2 separate regions of the Homo sapiens genome follow, and region 2 is linked to region 1. Evidence: promoter capture Hi-C in 16 types of primary human blood cells and fetal thymus (Javierre and others, 2016). All regions are on one chromosome and are shown on one strand. Each heading gives the region's core, a stretch centred on a gene start or on the middle of the fragment in contact. The rest is flanking DNA. Distances are from core to core; before and after follow the strand shown. Region 1 holds the start of KRTAP10-4 (keratin associated protein 10-4). Region 2 has its middle 29 kb from the start of TSPEAR.

Region 1 (4,584 bases), core at 1,549-4,048:
GAACTTATTAAAGAAGAAAAGATAATTGGGAGGTCCAATATCTAATAAAGGACACCTTCCAACACAGAAAAACTACAGTTTCCTGGAAAATACTACCAACCCTTTAAAGAAGAAAAAATGTCAATTCTACATCATCTCTTTCAGAAGATAGAATAGGAGAAAACACCAACTCTTTTCATGAAGGCAGTGTTACCAAACCAGGCAAAGGCATTGCAATAAGAGAAAACTACAGACCAACCAAAATCCTCAATAAAATATTAGCAAATACAATCCAGCAACATGTAAAAAGGACAATACGTTGTAGAGATGGGGTCTGGCTATGTTGCCCAGGCTGATCTCAAACTCCTGGCCTTAAATAATCCTCCTGCCTTGGCCTCCCAAAGTGCTGGAATTACAGGCATGAGCCACCACATCCAGCCTAGAGGGGAACATTTCAGACCAGATAACACTAGTCTGGAAAAACCAGCACCAACACGATTCTTAGTGGGGAAACCCCTCCCTCTAAGATCAGGTGGGTGTTAATGCACATGCCAGCCTCCTTGCTCTGTCTCCTGGGAGGGCTGGGAAAGCAACACCCCAGTAGTGTGAGCACACCTTGCTCCAGATTTTGGTTTCTAAATGCCTTCGTCCACCAAGAGGAAGCAGGGCTTCCTAGAGAAGCGTCTGATTCCAGGGATGAAACAGGGCAAATCTGAGATGAACTTGGACCCAAAAGTAAGAAAGGTCAGGGAGGGACAGCGTGTTGAAAGGGCACCAGGGCCAAAACGAAAGGACTTGAGGGCCGAAGTTGGAACCACTGCAACCACAAAATACATAGTGATCATATTGGATTATAGCTCAAGTAATAGATAAACATTCTTTAGTCCACACATAGATAAATAAATAAGGAAGCAAATAGACACACAGAAGAGCGGGACAGCTCCTCCTCCCGGGAGAATTTCAATTAGTAAGTGTGGAAGGAACAAGGCAGGGAGGAGAATCCTCAACAGAGCCCCACAGGGACCGTGCGGGCGAGGCCCCCGGAGGGGCACCAGCACTGCCGGGCAAACGCCTGGGCAGACGCAGGACAGCTGCCAAGTCTCAGACATGACCAATTACAGAGGGAAACGGCGGCACCGCGAGGGATGGGCCGCGGCCGTGTCACCTCCATGCCCCACGCACACTGCTCCTGTGGGATTCCTCCCCCAACGCGATGCCCACTCTGACCACGAGGAAACCTCAAGCAAGTCCACGTGGAGGGGCATTCTACAAAACACCCAACCGGTCAAGGTCGCTGAGGCCAAGGAGAGATTGGGCAACCGTCACAAACCAGAGAAGTCGAGGAGACCTTTCAGCCAACGCCATGTGGGGTCCTGAGCAGGACCCACCGGAAGTTGGTGCAGCTGCCTAAAGACCGTCCTGGCTGAGAAGAAACAGAGCAGCGCTGCTTTCTCAGAGCTGGGAACCAACCTGCGGTGGTGTCGGGAAGCTGGCAAAGGGCGATGTGAACCCCGCTTTTCAGCCACTATTCCCTAAAACCATTCCACGAGGTCAAGCCACACCTCACAAGCAAAGGCTGCTGAGTGCCCAGTGCTGGGCACCTGCTGTCCTGTGCTACCCTCGCCACCCCCCATGCTCCACCTGCCCCAGGCCCAAGTCCACAAGAAACACTTCTGCCGTGCTTGCCTTCCCATCCCGGGTTCTGCTCCCGTGCCCACGTCCTCATCCCAGGTTCTGCCATTGTGTCTGCTTGCTGTGGATTGAATTGTGTCCCTCAAAAGGTGCCGAAGTCCTGACCGCTGGTACATGTGAATGTGACCCTATATGGAAATAGGGTCTTTGTAGGTGATCAAGTTAAGAGGAGGCTGTTAGGATAGGCCCTACTGCAATAATGCTTTGTATCCTTATAAAAAGGGGAGATTTGGACACACACACACACACACACACACACACACACACACACACACACACACACACGGAGAAGCTGTGTGAAGATAAAGGCAGAGCTCAGGTGAGGCCACTGTAAGCCAAGGACCCCAAAGATAGCAGCAGCCCACAGGAGTGAGGGGAGCGGGGTGAGACAGTGCCCCTCGCAGCCTCAGAAGGAACCCATGCTGTCCACTGTCCACACCTCGATCTCAGACTTCTGGCTTCCAAAACCATGAGACACGGAATTTCTGTTGTGTGACCAGCCAGTTTGTGGTACTGTTTGTCATGGCAGCCCAAGGAAAAGAATACATTACAGCATACAAACCATGACTCACATTATCTTTACTTAGAACCCAAACAAACCTCTCTCCCTAAGCTTTCAATCACAGAGGCACATGATCTTGTTCAGCAGCCTAGAAAACCAAGGCCCAGCGGAGCCACCCGTAGGCACCCACTCCCCATAGCCTGGCACACACACACGGCAGAGCCACCCACAGGCACCCACTCCTCATAGTCCAGCACACACACGGCAGAGCCACCCGCAGGCACCCACTCCCCATAGCCCGGCACACACGTGGACCATGCCACCCTCCACGTGCGCCTGGGGAGCAAAGCAGCACAGCCTGAACTGCCCCTCAGCTCTTCCTCCTGAGTCTAAAACACGCACATGCGCCCCAGGCCAATTCCAAGTTTTGTAAACTGAGCAACAGCTCTTGGGAAACAAAAACACAGCTACTGTTTATTCTCCTGGAGCTGGCTGTACACCCCAACAAGGAAGGGAGGGCTTGCTGAGCCTCCTGTCTGGACAACATGCACCAAGGAGGAGTATAAAAGCCCCACAAACCCGAGCACCTCACTCACTCGCTCACCCACTCCCTCCCATCTCCCCCAGCTCAACCCCCAGCACAGCAGCATCCACCATGTCCGTCTGCTCCAGCGACCTGAGCTACAGCAGCCGCGTCTGCCTTCCTGGTTCCTGTGACTCTTGCTCCGACTCCTGGCAGGTGGACGACTGCCCAGAGAGCTGCTGCGAGCCCCCCTGCTGCGCCCCCAGCTGCTGCGCCCCGGCCCCCTGCCTGAGCCTGGTCTGCACCCCAGTGAGCCGTGTGTCCAGCCCCTGCTGCCCAGTGACCTGTGAGCCCAGCCCCTGCCAATCAGGCTGCACCAGCTCCTGCACGCCCTCGTGCTGCCAGCAGTCTAGCTGCCAGCTGGCTTGCTGTGCCTCCTCCCCCTGCCAGCAGGCCTGCTGCGTGCCCGTCTGCTGCAAGACTGTCTGCTGCAAGCCTGTGTGCTGTGTGCCCGTCTGCTGTGGGGATTCTTCATGCTGCCAGCAGTCTAGCTGCCAGTCAGCTTGCTGCACCTCCTCCCCCTGCCAGCAGGCCTGCTGTGTGCCCATCTGCTGCAAGCCTGTCTGCTCTGGGATTTCCTCTTCGTGCTGCCAGCAGTCTAGCTGTGTGAGCTGTGTGTCCAGCCCCTGCTGCCAGGCGGTCTGTGAGCCCAGCCCCTGCCAATCAGGCTGCATCAGCTCCTGCACGCCCTCGTGCTGCCAGCAGTCTAGCTGCCAGCCGGCTTGCTGCACCTCCTCCTCCTGCCAGCAGGCCTGCTGCGTGCCCGTCTGCTGCAAGACTGTCTGCTGCAAGCCTGTGTGCTCTGAGGATTCCTCTTCATGCTGCCAGCAGTCTAGCTGCCAGCCGGCTTGCTGCACCTCCTCTCCCTGCCAGCAGGCTTGCTGTGTGCCTGTCTGCTGCAAGCCTGTGTGCTGCAAGCCTGTCTGCTCTGTGCCCATCTGCTCTGGGGCTTCCTCTCTGTGCTGCCAGCAGTCTAGCTGCCAGCCAGCTTGCTGCACCTCCTCCCAAAGCCAGCAGGGCTGCTGCGTGCCCGTCTGCTGCAAGCCTGTGAGCTGTGTGCCTGTTTGCTCTGGGGCTTCCTCTTCATGCTGCCAGCAATCTAGCTGCCAGCCAGCTTGCTGCACCACCTCCTGCTGCAGACCCTCCTCCTCCGTGTCCCTCCTCTGCCGCCCCGTGTGCAGGCCCGCCTGCTGCGTGCCCGTCCCTTCCTGCTGTGCTCCCACCTCCTCCTGCCAACCCAGCTGCTGCCGCCCAGCCTCCTGCGTGTCCCTCCTCTGACGCCCCGTGTGCTCCCGCCCAGCCTGCTGAGGCCTCCGCTCAGGTCAGAAGCCCAGCTGCTGATGGACACGCCCCCCAGTGCCAGCCAGGCTCAGGTCCCACCTGAAAGCTGATAGTCGCGTCCTGAATTGCTCCTGCACTTTGACCATTTCCTGGTGTCTGCTGTTGAGCTGGACAATGGAAGAACTGAAAGTCTATACTCAATGCTGCAGCCCTCTTGCGGGGGGAGGGGGGCGCTTCTAGAAAGTTCCCATGGCAGTGGCCTCCCCTCCATATCTCCCACCTCTCATGAGGGTCAGTTCAGCCTTGACCCGTGAGGTCTCTGTCCTCCTGGCTCAGAGCCGCAGAGCCTTCTTTGGACGCCCTCAAGCTGACCAATAAAGGCCCTGAGACTGCAATGGCGCTGACACCCAGGTGTGTTGATTAATGCCTTGGCTGGAGCTCACGGCCATGGTTTTCTCCTTTGTGCACAACCCTCTGCTGTCCTTCAGGCCCCTGAGTGTTTTCCTGTGCCCAGGGGCGTGTGGTTCCCAGGGGTCCAGGCTAGACG
Region 2 (4,584 bases), core at 1,144-3,643, 170 kb after region 1:
TTTTCTTTGTTTATGAAAGGCAACATGGCTCTTATGCACCTGGTGGAATGTACAAGTCATGTTTATTTGGGGGCAATCTCTCAGTATTTAAAATGGCAATACCTCTGACCCAGTGATTCCTGTTTGGGACTTTTTTTTTATATATACAGATTTACCTCCACATACATATAACAACATGAGAACCAAAATATTATGGCAGTGCTGTTTAAGAACAGAAGATGGAAACAAATTGGCTGTCAATACAGAGGGGACTGAGTAAAGGTTGGGATGCCAATTCAAGGGACACTATGCAGCCACTCAAATGAAGACGATACATCTGGACATTTTCCATGACACAAGATCCCAGATAGATCATTAAGAGAAGCAAAGATGGCAAACAACCATCTTTCGAAGGATGTATGAATCCAGCAGCTGGCAGAAATGGATTGGAGGAAGTCATCATCACTCTATGCAACTCTAAATCATGTTCCCGCATCGCTACTCAAAATACTCAATCTGAGTCAAGGCCTTGGTCTGGCAAGCACCAGCTAATTGGGCTCTCTGTCCTTCCTGCAGAGACCTCTGAGCAGCAGCTGCCTGGTGTCCTCCACAGGGGTCAGCCTCTGACCTGGGAAACCCTGACGAGCCTTACCTTTCCACTCAGCACACATGAAATCAAGAGGAATACACCATGTTTCCAAGCTTTCTCCTGTCCTGGAGCCAGGAGCCCCAAGTCCCCTGAATGGCATAGGCCCCAAGGCCAGCCAGGCAGCTGTTAGCAGGGGAAAGATGAGTGGGTGCTGGACAGGCCAAAACCATATACATCCCCACAGAGGCAGTGGCAATAATCCCAGTGAGAGAGGAGCAAGAAAGGAGGGACAACTATACCAGACTTAAGAGATGCAAGGGGAGTGAATCGATAGCAACCTTAGAAAAAAGGTCTTCAACCAGGGGCTAGCCCCACTCTCTCAAGGGCATGCAGTCCTCAGAGGATCCAGGCCCAAGAGCTTTAAGAGACATATTATTTTCTTGAAATGTAAAGTGAAAAGTTGGCATTAAAAAAGGGATGTTGAGGCCGCAATAGGGTGCTCTGAAGGTAGAGTGGGTACAGTGGCTGTTATCCTTAACTGCTCCTTTTCTAGCCCCTGCACTTGCCAAAAAACACATTTCTCCTGGGGCAGTCCTGTTCAAGCAATGACAATGTAGGAAGAAAGCAAAGATGGCAGTGTAGATCCCAAGTCCATGTAGGAGACACCTGGGACAAGCTTCAGTGTCCCTCCCTCTGTCCATCCACCTGCCCAGCCATCCATTTATGCATCTATTGCTCCTAGACCTAGGGTATCATGTTACCCAAACAGCATGCTGTGAAATGCCGCTCTGCATCCTCTCTGTTCTGGGCCATGAGAGCTCCACTTCTGCCCCTGCACCTCAGCCCCAAGGTCAGTTGTATATTTGTAGCATCTCAAGGAGGAGGAAGTGGGAAGTTTCACATTTCCTTCTGATGGACCAGTAATAAATCTTTAAGGAAAAGGACACACATCAGAACTCCCTCTCCCTCTCTTTCTTCCTCTCCCCCATCTCTCAGAGCCCAGCTGCCATGTAAAAAAGTCCAGGCTATCCTGCTGGACAGGCCATATGGTACAGAACTAAAGCACAAACTGACTGCCAGCCCTGTGAGGAAGCTTTCTTAAAAGTGACACTCCTTTTAAACACTGCAGATGATGCATCCCCAGCCAACATCTAACTGCAACCTCATAAGATGTTCTGAACAAGAACCACCAACTAAGCTTCTAGTCCCTGACTCCTAGAAACTGTGTGGCATAATACATTTGGCTGTTTTAAGCTACTGTTTGGGGACAGTTTGTTACACAGCAGTAGACTGTAGTGCATACTATAAATCCAGAGTCACTTTGCATTTGGACACAAGTCTTTCTTCTTGCTGCCCAGCTGCTATGTTTCCACTTGTCCATTCGGTCCTATCAGTCCTGACTTGACTTAGATCACATGAACAACAACACAATGCCAATTCTAGCTTAAATAAGACATTTAGCACAGTTTTCAAAATACTCATCCTAAGCTCCAGACTTATTAATGGCCAAGACATTATTATCTCTTTGCTTTTTAATTTCTGCAGGGCTCAGTTTCATTCTATCACAAAATGATGACAGATGCAGGAGGCAGGTAAGTGAGGGTCCCCACAGAATCTCCAGCCCACCCCACAAGTGTTTATATCAGATACTTTTGTGTAGATGAGGGAACCTGCCCAGAGTCTTGTCTGCACATGCTTGCAACGGACTGGGGGCCCCCCTGTGCACTGGGAGAATGGGGTGGAGGCATGGGAAGTGCATGCCTTGTGCAGCGGGGAGGAGCCTGGCCTCTTCGGCTTGTATGTGGTGGCCTGGAATTCAATCTGTGAGGTGCGACCCTGTTGGCAGGACCTCATTTTATTTTTGCCAAGAGCTTTCTTTTAATAAATCTCACCTTTCAACATGTCCACGTGCCTAATTTTTTCCTGGTAATGGGACAAGAACCCAGGTTTTAGCTGAGCTAAGGAGTAAAAATCCTGCATCATTTTGGTGGCCCATACAGGGACACGAGCAAAGGTGAGTAAATGCGGACCAAAACATCTTTTTCCCTTTTGTTTTTGAGCCTATTTGTCCTCAGACTTCTTCTGAAGGTAAAGGAAACAGGCCCCCACCCTTGCCACTCCCAGGGGTCAAGAATGTCGGCCTCGGTCCGACCCAGACTTTCTATGGCATTTTCCTTCATTGTTTGGGACAGATGGGCAAGCGGCAACTCCCCGCCCGCCTGGCCTCCCCTCCCAGCTGGGGCTGGGGTGCATAGCTCAAAGGCTGCATGTGGCAGGCTGGCCAGCATTCCCCACCATATGTCCATGGTGTCTCCTCATTCCATGACTGAGGAGTCCAGCTCCATTCAAGCCCTAGGGAAGAAACAGCAGTAAGTTTCTCTCCCTGTTGGAGGAAACTATTTGTATAAGAATAAGAGGTTCTTTCCCAAGGCATCTTTCCAACCCTGCACTTTAAGCTTTTTTTCTTTTCTCCACCAGGTCAGGAGTTAACTTTTAAGTGAGAGGGTTTTTTTCCCCCTTTTAGAAAGCACTTTAGTAGGCCAGAACCCTAGCTATCACTGTTTTTCTCTGTAAAGTTTTAATTATGAAAAAGGATTTGTAGGCCAGCTGCAGTGGCTCACATCTGTAATCCCTGCACTTTGGGAGGTCGAGGTGGGTGGATCACCTAAGGTCAGGAGTTCAAGACCAGCCTGGCCAACATGATGAAATCCTGTCTCTACTAAAAATACAAAAAATTAGCTGGGCATGGTGGTGCGCACCTGTAATCCCAGCTACTCAGGAGGCTGAGGTAGGAAAATCACTTGAACCCAGAAGGCAGAGGTTGCAGTGAGCTAAGATTGCGCCACTGCACTCCAGCCTGGGCAACAAGAGTAAAAAACTAGGAAGGAAGGAAGGAAGGAAGGAAGGAAGGAGGGAAGGAAGGAAGGAAGGAAGGAAGGAAGGAAGGAAGGGGGAGGGAGGGAGGGAAGGAAAGAAGGAAGGAAAGAAAGAAGGAAAGAGAGAAGAGAGAGAAAGATGAGAGAGAGGAGAGACAGAAAGAAAGGAAGGAAGGAAGGAAGGAAGGAAGGAGGAGGGAGGGAGGGAGGGAAGGAAAGAAGGAAGGAAAGAAAGAAGGAAAGAGAGAAGAGAGAGAAAGATGAGAGAGAGGAGAGACAGAAAGAAAGAAAGGAAGGAAGGAAGGAAGGAAGGAAGGAAGGAAGGAAGGAAGGAAGGAAGGAAAGATTTGTGAGTTGGTCTTAAGCTACAGCCAATCTGGTGTGCTCTGCATGTCTTTCTGTATGGTCAGTAGCAAACTTTGCTGCAGGCCTCCATCTTGTTTTATGTCCTTGGGAGCATGACCTGTAGCGACATGGCAGTGCTTTGGTTTAGCCTTCACCATTTTACAATGGCGGCCCAGGTCCAATCCTGGCTTAGGGAATGAGTTCTTTCTGGTTTGATATCTACATGACCTTTGCCATTTGTTGATTCCCTTCCCCTCCACAAACTGCCTTGGATTTTCCTTTCTCTGAACCTTCAGAAAAGTTTGAAAGCCAGAAATATTGGCCGCTTGGCATGGCTAAAGCTGGGTAATGAGATTTAAAAGGATTTTATTAAAGAGCACTCAGCTTAATTAAAAGTGGATATCCAAGTTACAGGTATATTTAAAAGGCCTTTGTTTTTCTCTTCTTGGATCTTGTTTTGCTGGAAAGAGGTTTTTTCTCAGTCAACTGAATTATTTTTCTCCATTTTGCCTTGCCACTCTTAATGCACACATGAAAGATGAGAGACCTCTGATTTCCTCATGGAGCCCCAGGAATTAGAGGCAGATGGATCCCTCTCAAAATCTGTTTTTGTCTCCCAGCTATATTTGCTTATGAGAGCCTGGAAACTGCATGTTTTCCTAGTCTTGCTCTTAAAGGGCTCCACCCAGAGGCCAACAATCCAATTATGAAAAATATTATAGCTACTGAATCTTCTTCTGCCTGTGTAGTTATATATGTGTTGTGTGTGTGATGTCTATTAAAAAAGAGCTCTAA

Evidence for each region. Contacts are between HindIII fragments. The CHiCAGO score rates a contact against its expected background, and 5 or more counts as called.
Region 2: a contact is called between a fragment that was not itself captured here and the fragment with the promoter of KRTAP10-4 in region 1, in 1 of 17 cell types (total CD8 T cells). The highest score is 5.6, in total CD8 T cells.

What each region holds. Positions count from the first base shown.
Region 1 is chr21:44,570,931-44,575,514 of GRCh38, forward strand. KRTAP10-4 (keratin associated protein 10-4) reads left to right here and starts at 2,799. Exons shown (of 1, transcript NM_198687.2): 1 at 2,799-4,441. The coding sequence starts at 2,829. The coding sequence ends at 4,034. The region is part of intron 1 of TSPEAR (thrombospondin type laminin G domain and EAR repeats); the gene reads right to left. RefSeq lists enhancers at 3,014-3,531, 3,532-4,050. The HindIII fragment of the contact is 4,220 bases long and covers 2,283-4,584 here.
Region 2 is chr21:44,738,153-44,742,736 of GRCh38, forward strand. No RefSeq gene overlaps it. Among named protein-coding and RNA genes, the nearest start is that of TSPEAR, 29 kb to the left of the region's middle. The HindIII fragment of the contact is 1,258 bases long and covers 1,765-3,022 here.